Linked DNA regions of Homo sapiens: region 2 is linked to region 1. The links are contacts of gene promoters, found by promoter capture Hi-C in blood cells and fetal thymus (Javierre and others, 2016). All regions are on one chromosome and are shown on one strand. The core of a region is centred on a gene start or on the middle of the fragment in contact, and the rest is flanking DNA. Distances in the headings are between cores, read along the strand shown. Region 1 holds the start of SMPDL3A (sphingomyelin phosphodiesterase acid like 3A). Region 2 has its middle 6.9 kb from the start of PKIB.

The links. Contacts are between HindIII fragments. The CHiCAGO score rates a contact against its expected background, and 5 or more counts as called.
Region 2: a contact is called between a fragment that was not itself captured here and the fragment with the promoter of SMPDL3A in region 1, in 1 of 17 cell types (monocytes). The highest score is 7.7, in monocytes.

Annotation. Positions count from the first base shown.
Region 1 is chr6:122,787,192-122,791,756 of GRCh38, forward strand. SMPDL3A (sphingomyelin phosphodiesterase acid like 3A) reads left to right here and starts at 2,067. Exons shown (of 8, transcript NM_006714.5): 1 at 2,067-2,267. The coding sequence starts at 2,156. RefSeq lists enhancers at 1,877-2,378, 2,379-2,878, 3,982-4,151, silencers at 2,093-2,387, 3,493-3,787 and a cis regulatory region at 4,067. The HindIII fragment of the contact is 3,428 bases long and covers 625-4,052 here.
Region 2 is chr6:122,601,034-122,605,972 of GRCh38, forward strand. It overlaps a transcript of PKIB not described here. Among named protein-coding and RNA genes, the nearest start is that of PKIB, 6.9 kb to the right of the region's middle. The HindIII fragment of the contact is 1,308 bases long and covers 2,784-4,091 here.

The sequences.
Region 1 (4,565 bases), core at 817-3,316:
AGGATGGGCCAGTGACACAGCCTCAGGAGGTCTTGACATGTGCCCAAGGTGGTCAGGATACAGCTTGCTTTTATACATTTTAGGGAGACATGATACAGCAATCAATACATGTAAGATTTTTACATTGGTTCGATCTAGACGGGCAGGACAACTTGAAGCTGGGCGGGGGGTGGGTGTTTCCAGATCACAGGAAGATTTAAACATGTCCTGATTGGCAATTGGTTGATTGAAAAAGTTATTATCAATAGAAAGGATGTCTGGGTTATGATAAGGGGTTGTTAGACCCAGATTTTGTCACACAGACGAAGCCTCCACGTAGCAGGCTTTAGAGAAAACAGATCTTAAATGTTTCTTATCAGACTTATGGTCTATGTTGATGTTAATTACGCATGTCCAACCCCCCCATCCCCTTTTTCATGGCCTGAACCAGTCTTTCAGGTTAAATTTTAGAGTGCCCTGACTGGGGAAAGAGTCCATACAGATGGTCGTCCATTCAGATGGTTGTGGGGGGCCTTCAAATTTTATTTTTGGTTTACAAAACAGAAAATGGAAGCACCTTGCTTCCCACTTCAAAGCCCGTTTCATGACACACACTCCCATTAAATTACATGGGATACAAAACAAAGCTTTCTATGCTGGGAAAGAAATACACTCTACAACATCTTTTTTGAGGTTAGTAATTATGGAAAGCATTTTCTTCTGCAAAGGAATTCCACGCCCTATAAATTTAAATTATTAGCTTGTCATCTCCAAGAGATCAGCATCCTCATAAACGGTGAGAGAAGGAACACAGAATACAGGATCCAGCACAGTTTCGGGATTCTGGCTTCTTTGCCAGACTTATCTTTGCTTACTTCTTTGTATAGACTTACTTCTTTGCCAGACTTATCTTTGCTTACTTCTTTGTATAGACTTACTTCTTTGCCAGAAGTATATTCAAAAAAGTTCCGTGGAAGCATCAAATCAACCACCTCTACTTATGATTTCCATGCATCTCTGGAATGCATAAAGCATGATTTCAGAACATGTTCTAATTCTAAGACCCTTCTCTTCCCGGCAGTTTAAAAAAAACAAAAAACAAAACGTCGTATCTTTGAGCATTGGTTTTCAAACATCACAATCACTTTAACATGACCTGAAATGCTTGTGAAAACACAAACTGCTGGGCTCCAGCAGGTTTCTGACTCAACAGGTCTAGGGTGGTGCCTGGGAATTTGCATTTCTAACTAGAGTTCCCAGGTGGTGCTAATGTTCCCAGTTCAGAGACTTCAATTCGAGATCCACTGCAGTATCCATAACTTTTGCTGATTTCCTTCAAATCATGATACTTCAGGGCTCTCTGCATCACCTCTACTGAGGAGCCCTACCCATTAAAGCTGGGGTAGGTTGGCCCAAGAATGGAACCGGGATCGTTGAGATTTCAGCACCCCAGCATTTTTTAGTGACTGAAATAATGAAAATTCTGATCAGGCTCCTGCTTGCTTGCACATTTTAACCACTCGCTTTTTGCCCAATATTCTCCTTGTTTCCACAATATAATTATAAACTGCTGAGGTACTGCTTCCTCGTCAAGAACAAAGAGGTTAACTTCAGGGTCACAAAAATGTTTGCAGAAGGGATGAATACCTCCAAGGGCTTTGCAACCAGCTGCGGATGCCTGGACGTCTAATTGCTCAAAGGTGTTATCTGAGACTGAAGAAACAGACTTTTCCCCTGGATTCTTTGAAAATCCCCCTCTCTTATTCTCTAGCAGAATAAAAACTCCCTGCTTTTTCCTTTTTACACACGGATTTGAGAGATCTTGTTCTCCCTCCTTCTGGCTTTTACTAAATTGAATGTCTTTCTCTATCCCCAAGCACCAGTATGTCAGTGTTTGACATCAACTGCACCACTGATACACGAGTCGGAATTTGAGCTTCTACAAGTACATTCCTTCCTAGGCCAAACACTGACGCTAAGAAATACGAGAACAGATCATCGCTAAACAGCAGCTGAAGGTCAGGCGAACTGACTCGCTGCGGAATCTGCCTTTGCACGTGATCAGTCGGACGTCTACACCCGCAGCCGTCTTCTGTCTCCGCCTCACCCTCAGGCCTGACGGTCCGAGTGGAGCTGCGGGACAGCCCGAACCTCCAGGTCAGCCCCGCGGCCCTCCATGGCGCTGGTGCGCGCACTCGTCTGCTGCCTGCTGACTGCCTGGCACTGCCGCTCCGGCCTCGGGCTGCCCGTGGCGCCCGCAGGCGGCAGGAATCCTCCTCCGGCGATAGGTGAGTTGTCCGCGACCCTTCTCTTCCCAGCCGGCAAAGAGCGCGGAGCGGCGGCGCCTGCGCACAGCAGGAGAAAGTGCGTGGGGGCAGCTGCCCCCGGCAGAGGCTCGGGCTAGCGGGGCCCCTGACGCGTCCGGCGTTGACCACGGCTGGTGGGCGCGGGGAGGGCGACCAAGGGACTACAGCGTTAGGGCGTCCAGCCGGGAGGCCGGGGCTGGGCGGGGGAAATGCCCTCGCCGGTGGGGGCGCTCCAAGGGCGCGTCGGCCGGATTTCGCCAGCCTGGCTTTTGTTTACATCCTGCATCTCAGTTGTTTTGTTCCTTGGGGAAGGAAGGAAAAGCTGCGGGACTCAAGGGAAGAGGAAGCTGGGAGTCCGATGTCCAGCACAGCAAGAGGCCCCTAATCGGTCCTGAATGGAGGGGGACTGCAGTTTCCCCACCAGCTCAGGGAAGTAAATTTCAGCGTGACTCACACTATCTTCTGTCTTGCTCGACCGAGATCAGTGGCTTTTTCTGCCACTCACCCAGCCAGAGCGCGAAAGCACCCTCGGGTAGACTCACCCCTTAGTCTACCGTGGAACTCACGGGGACTTCATTTCACCTGGATGTCCACTAGGTTTCCTGCGGGCGGGACCCATTTTATTCACTCCCAGCACTTAACACAGTGCCCGTTACAGTAGTGATTCTCTTAAGTGTGCCCTGGACCGGTGGCAGCAGCCGCCGCACTTAAAATTGTTAGCATTGCAAATTTCCAGCCCATCCCAGACCTACTGAATCTGAAACGCCGGCGTTGGGCTTCCACAGTATGCTGTTTAACCCACCCTCCGCATGATTCCTTTCGGCTAAGTTTGAGACTCACTGGTCCAGAATAGATACATTTTGGTGGGAGATTGTACAATGCCATCCGAGCCTCCAGTTCCAAAAATCAAGGTGCCCTCACCTCCTCAACTCCCTTTAAAAATAATTGCACTGTTAAGAGGAAAAACAAAATTAGAGAAGTGGGGTTCTGTTTTCTTTTAGGGGAGAGTTGTCCCTGAGACTCGGTAGCAGCACCTAGTGCTGAAACCTCTTTCGCTCCCTCTGTGCTTTCTCAGGACTTGGGAGCGCTCTAGGGCAAATATCTTCTCTTTGAAGGCCAAGTCCTCACGACTCAGCTGTCAGGTCTGAAGCAAAAACTGTAAATCTGGTTTCCGAACTGTGGCAAATGTCAGTCATTACAAGAAATTTCCCCAAAATGTTTATGTATACTGGTTTCTGCTTTTATTACGGCTTAGCTTGTGTTCCTTTAATTATGTGACCGGTTAGGGTTTTGAAATAAAATGTCTCACGTTGCTTGAGGCCACACAATGGCAAATTCACCTGTGTTTTAAAGAGGCCTGAATGAGCGCTTTCTGGGGACTCTGTGAGTCTTCACACCTCCTGTTTGGGAAACTGCAAGGTTGAATCCCCTCCTACTAAAGGGGAAGGAAGAGGGGTTACTGGAGTTCAGTGGTCTGAAGTGTTACTGGAGTCACTGGAGTTCGAAAGTCTGAAGTGTTACTGGAGTTCAAAGGTCTGAAGTGTTCACTCAGCAGTTTCACAATTCTCCTTGTTTGTAATATTTTGCGTATTTTCCACTTGATGTGACAACTCTCCTGCCTCCTCTCAGCCCCACATGCTTGGACTTCCTTTCAGCATCCACCCTGCCTGGCTACTGCTTTCTTGTTTTGTGTTTTTGCGTTTAAATTCCCAGTCTTAGTTTTCTGCCCTGTCAAGTCCTGGTGGTCGGACGACAGAAGTTCTAGGAAGCTTCACCTGTGTGTTTTTGGCTACAGTTCTTTAGATTGAGTAGGCTGGGACTGGCTTGTGTATTGGTACTGTTAAAGCAAACTAAATACGGCCTGAGAAGGACTCCTTACTTCTATATTTGAATCCTTGTGAATGAACTGTAACCTAGCTTAATAGTCAGATGAGACTGAAAACCTAACTTAAGAGTATGCACTGGTAACAATAGCTAAGTTTGGCCAATCCCAGCAGCCATACTTCAACCATTCATATACTGCTGAGTGTTCAAACTATGTTCAAATAAGGCATAAGGCGAGCTGAATTATGTCTGAACTATGGTTCATTGGATTCTTGAGAAGTTATAAAATATTTTGGATTAAAAGATTTTCTGGTATAATTTTGAGAGTTTTTCTAGATTTGCTGAACACACACACATATTTTTGGAAGTCTTTTTAAAAATTTATTTTATTATTTTATTTTATTTTTTATTTTGAGACAGTCTCGCCCTGTCACCCAGGCTGGACTGCAGTGGCGC
Region 2 (4,939 bases), core at 2,188-4,687, 180 kb before region 1:
ACTAACAGCAGTTTAAATATGACAGAGTAAAAAAAAAAAATCAGTGAACTGTAAGGCATAGCAATAGAACTATGAAAAATAAAACACAGAAAGAAAAAGGGCCCCAAATAATGAACAGGACATTAATGATCTGTGGGACAACTTCAGGCAGCCCAAGCACATGTGGAATTAGAGTCACCAAAGGAGATGGGTTGAAGGAATAATTATATGAAGAAATGAGCGAAATGTTTCCAACCCAAGAAAGTCAATAGGCCTCAAGTTTGTCAAGAAAATTATATCAAGGATATAATATTAAAATGACTTAAAATTATTAATAAAGAAAACTTAAAAGAAATTAGAGAAAAAGAGTTTGTACATGGCACAAAGTTAAGCAACTTTTTTAAAGTATTGGAAAAATAACCTCTCACCCTAGAATTCTGTATCAATATCTTCCTTACTACTCAAGAAAAGGGATCTCCATCAAGTACTACTGACACTTGAACAACACAGATTTGAACTGCGTGGGTCCACTTATCTGTAGAGTTTCTTCCACCTCTACCACCTCTGAGATGTCAAGACCAACCCCTCCTCTTCCTCTTCCTCCTACTCAGCCTAATCAACATGAAGATGATGAGGATGAAGACCTTTATAATGATGGATTTCCACTTAATATATAGTATATATATTGTCTCTTCCTTATGACTTTCTTACTAACATTTTCTTTTGTCTGGCTTACTTTATCAGTATATAGTACATATAACATACAAAACTGTGTTAATCAACTGTTTGTGTTATCAATAAGGCTTCTGGACAACAGTAGCTATTAGTAGTTGTGTTCTGGGGGAGTCAAAAGTTATATGAGGATTTTCAACAGGCGAGGGTTCAGTGCCCTTAACCCAGTGTTGTTTAAGGGTCACCTGTAGTTTGGAATCAATTAGGAAAGCATGGAGTCCTCCCTTTTCTTTCCTTCCAAGCTCTTCCCTTCCTTTCCCTTCATTTTTTTTTTTTTTTATAAATACAAGGTTGGGAAAAAGATTTATCTTATGCATATCTATTAACTGGTAGTCCTGAAGTCTGGTTGTAAAGGAAGATATTTACTCCTAGGAATCATAGCGGTGCTTCAACTCAAACCACTGGAAATTATTCTCAGACATTATTATCTCCCTAAGATTCTTTTCTGTGATGTAAATTACTGTGCTTCACCTTCCTATGGCTGAACCCAAATAGTGTTTCACAAGAAGCTACTAATAGGGCCAGTGTGGACTTAAAACCACTTAGGACTCATAGAAGAAGCTCAAGTGGTTGGGAATGGGAAGATGAAAAAGATACAGAAAGGAGACAGGCTTTGTTTTCTCTAACATTTTGTCTATAGAGCTGTAGCTAATGAGAATCATAAGATGCATCTTAGCCTCAATGTTCTGAGAAATGTTGATGCCAGAGATTGTATTTCAACAGTTAAGATGCTTTAAGGAATACAACTTTTGTTGTTATTTACTTTGGATTAATGAGCTAATGTTAATTTTTATAGCTTTTCTAATTCCAGTAGAGTATAAGGGTAATTCCTTACAAAAAAAGACAAAAAACAAACTAACAAAAAATCCTGTATCAATAGGGTAAGTTGGCCAGGCGTGGTGGCACACGCTTGTAATCTCAGCACTTTGAGAGGCCGAGGCAGGCGGATTGTTTGAGGCCAGGAGTTCGAGACCAGCCTGGCCAATGTGGCAAAATGCCGTCTCCCCTAAAAATACAAAAAACAAGCAAAAAACAAATGAACAAACAAAAAAAACAAAAAAATTAGCCGGGTGTGGTGGTGCACACCTGTAGTCCCAGCTACCTGAGAGGCTGAGACAGGAGAATTGCTTGAACCCAGGAGGCAGAAGTTGCAGCGAGCCGAGATCGCACCACGGCACTCCAGCCTGGGTGACAGGGCAAGACTGCGTCTCAAAAAAAAAAAAAAAAAAAAAAATAGGAGTACGTTTACATTTTAGGTTCCTAAGCAAATTTTTAAAAGAGGCTAACTTTTAAGTCCAATTCCCCAGGAACATCTCAAAAGCTTCTCTTTTTTAAAAGACTCCATCCACCCCAACTCTGAACAGTGATACAGGAGCTATGGTTAAATTAGAGTTTATCTAAATTAAAAAGACCTAATTCATTTTATAAGACAACTTAACATTCATTATATTTATCTATAGTTATTGAGTAATTTGGGATCATAATAAATAATATCTAATACGAATAACATAAATGTCATAAAGGTGCTACTTACTGGAGTTCTGATAAAATGTATATTTTCCAATTTAATAAGATAAGGCATGAGAGACATCAGGATTTCCCATGTTAGAAGTTGTGAATTCATTTTTTAATTATGAGCATCTAATCTTAGATCTAACCCAATCTTAGATTTTATGTATCCGTGCACAGAAGAAATTCACATAAAAGTATATTGAAAAAATTTGAAAGACATTTCTTTTTTTCTTTTTTTTTGAGACAGAGTCTCACTCTGTTGCTTAGGCTAGAGTACAGTGGTGCTATCTCAACTCACTGCAACCTCCACCTCCTGAGTTCAAGCGATTCTCCTGCCTCAGACTCTCTGGAGTAGCTGCAATTATAGGTATGTGCTACCACGCCCGGCTAATTTATGGATTTTTAGTAGAGATGGGGTTTTGCCACGTTGGCCAGGCAGGTCTTGAACTCGTGGCCTCAAGTGTTCCGCCCACCTTGGCCTCCCAAAGTGCTGGGATTACAGGCATGAACGACCACTCCTGGCTTTCAACTACATTTTTTACAGGTATTAGTACAAATAAAGCTTATTTGGGCAAATAACTTACCACATACTTATTAGTCACGAAAATATCTTTGGTAAGTTGTGATTTCTTTAATTATTTTTGGTGTTTTGTTATGTGTTAAGGTCATCCTGTTGAATGGAGAAGAGAGGTGGGAGAATGGTTAGTGTGTGTGTGTACTTATGGTCAAATAAAAAGGTGCACATTAGCTTACTTACATATTTATACAAAAATATTTATTAGATACCAACTCTGTGCCAAACACAGATGCTGCACCATTAAATGGTTAGTTGGTTAGGGTTAGCAATTCATGTACTGGTCCTGAAACATTCAGAGTTGTCTCATTTACTTGAAGAAGTTAGAAAATACCAATTTTGGAATAGAAGAATCTCATGCTGACAGTGATAGTAGAGTTAGACAATACACATGAAAAGTTTTAAGGGCATGTCAAAAACTTAAGAGAATAATATTTTTCTTTTAAAATTGCCATACTCCCCAAACACATGGAGGAAAGTCTGTAAGATTGGATGGCAACTTGGCACATTTGAATGAATTGATCAGAAATGGAGAAAAATTCCTCAATAAGTTTCCCAAAGTAGAAGATTTGTGCACAGGAATTTGAAGAAATTAAGTGACACTGCTTAAGAACAGAAGGTAATGAAAATAAATACATCCCCTTGCACCAATTATGAAAATTAGAAAAAAAGAGGTCACATGGAGTGTCAAGTTGATGAGTTTATTTGGAAAGCAGGATTTGTGCTGGGAAGTGATAAGAATTAGTTAGTTGGAGGTGGATGGGTAAAGTGTTCTAAATGTTGGGCTTAATTTCGATTTAATAAGGAGGCCAATTCAGAGACTTAAAGAAATTTAGAGCAGGATAATCCCTTAGTTCTTCATCTTCCCTTCAGTCATAAGAAAACTAATTTTACTCAGATTACACAGCCTTGAGTGGCATTGCCAGTTGGGATCAGAACCCAACATTTTCTGTTTTCTGTGTTCTTTTCATATGCCCTGCTACTCTGCAAAACAATGCCCTATTGATCAGGAGTGGGGAGAGACACATGACTACAATGGTAATGAAGGAATACTTTGTTAGGAAATTTCTATTTTAAATACTGAAAAGAAATCAGTCTCTTTCCCATCCTTCTGCTTCTTACTTTATAGACTCTGATCTTCTAAAGGACAGTTGTGTCCCCAACTGTTTCATTGTCCAGCTTCTCCCTTGGTGAATGTGGGTCTGTAGCACCCTTTCTGCTATACAAAAGGAGCAGGGTCACTAACTAGTAGCACAGTCTGTGCCCCTTGTGCCCTAGGCCACTCTGTCACCCAAGCTTGGTTGCAGGACAACATACTTAGTGGCCTTTCAAAGATGGATGCTCCTGTAATCTGTTCCAAACCTCGGCTTAGTTATGCTGCTGCCCCTGCCACAATTTGGAATTCTCTCACATCATCACTCTGCAAATAATGGATGGAAGCTTTGGTGGAACTTATAGTTTCTGGTCTTTGATGGAATTTATGGTTCCTGTCCTGGAGCAGAAAGAAGAAAAAGCCAGAGAGTGTTATGCTTTTTAAAGAGAGTTCCATTTGTCTCTGGCAGCTACTTGAATATTCCTCAGAGTGTCTGTCAGCTGGAGGAAAAGTTAGCACTGATTTCGACATTTCCTTCTTCCCTCTCTAAGGATTTAAAAAATTTTCCTTTACAAGGTACGGCTTGAGAAACTAGCCCAGCCTCTCCCACAGGTGAATCTTATATTTCATATATAAGCCCTTCTGAATCTTATATTTTTAGGAAAGGGTGAGATATGGTCATCCTGTAGACTCTCCCTTAATACCAAGGAACCACATATGTCCTCTGGAATGGAGAGTGGGCGAATCCTCCCCTCCCCTCCAAGAGGGAAGCCAACTTCCTCAGTTCTTTGTAACCACACTTCTCACTGTCCCAGGTACATGACTTCTCAGTGGTTTTTGTCCCCAAGGCAGATAGCTACTCTCAGGGGTGTAAAGACTCTGGGCAGCTCTAATCTTCTGATTTTCATATGTATTAAATATCACAGTTTGAAAGCTTTAGAAACATTGATAAGGTTCATATTATTGTAGTTATCTTTGCCAAATAGACCTGAAGAGCTATCATGCCAGTGTCATCCAGCCTTGCTATTCCTCTGGCCTCCATAGACTTG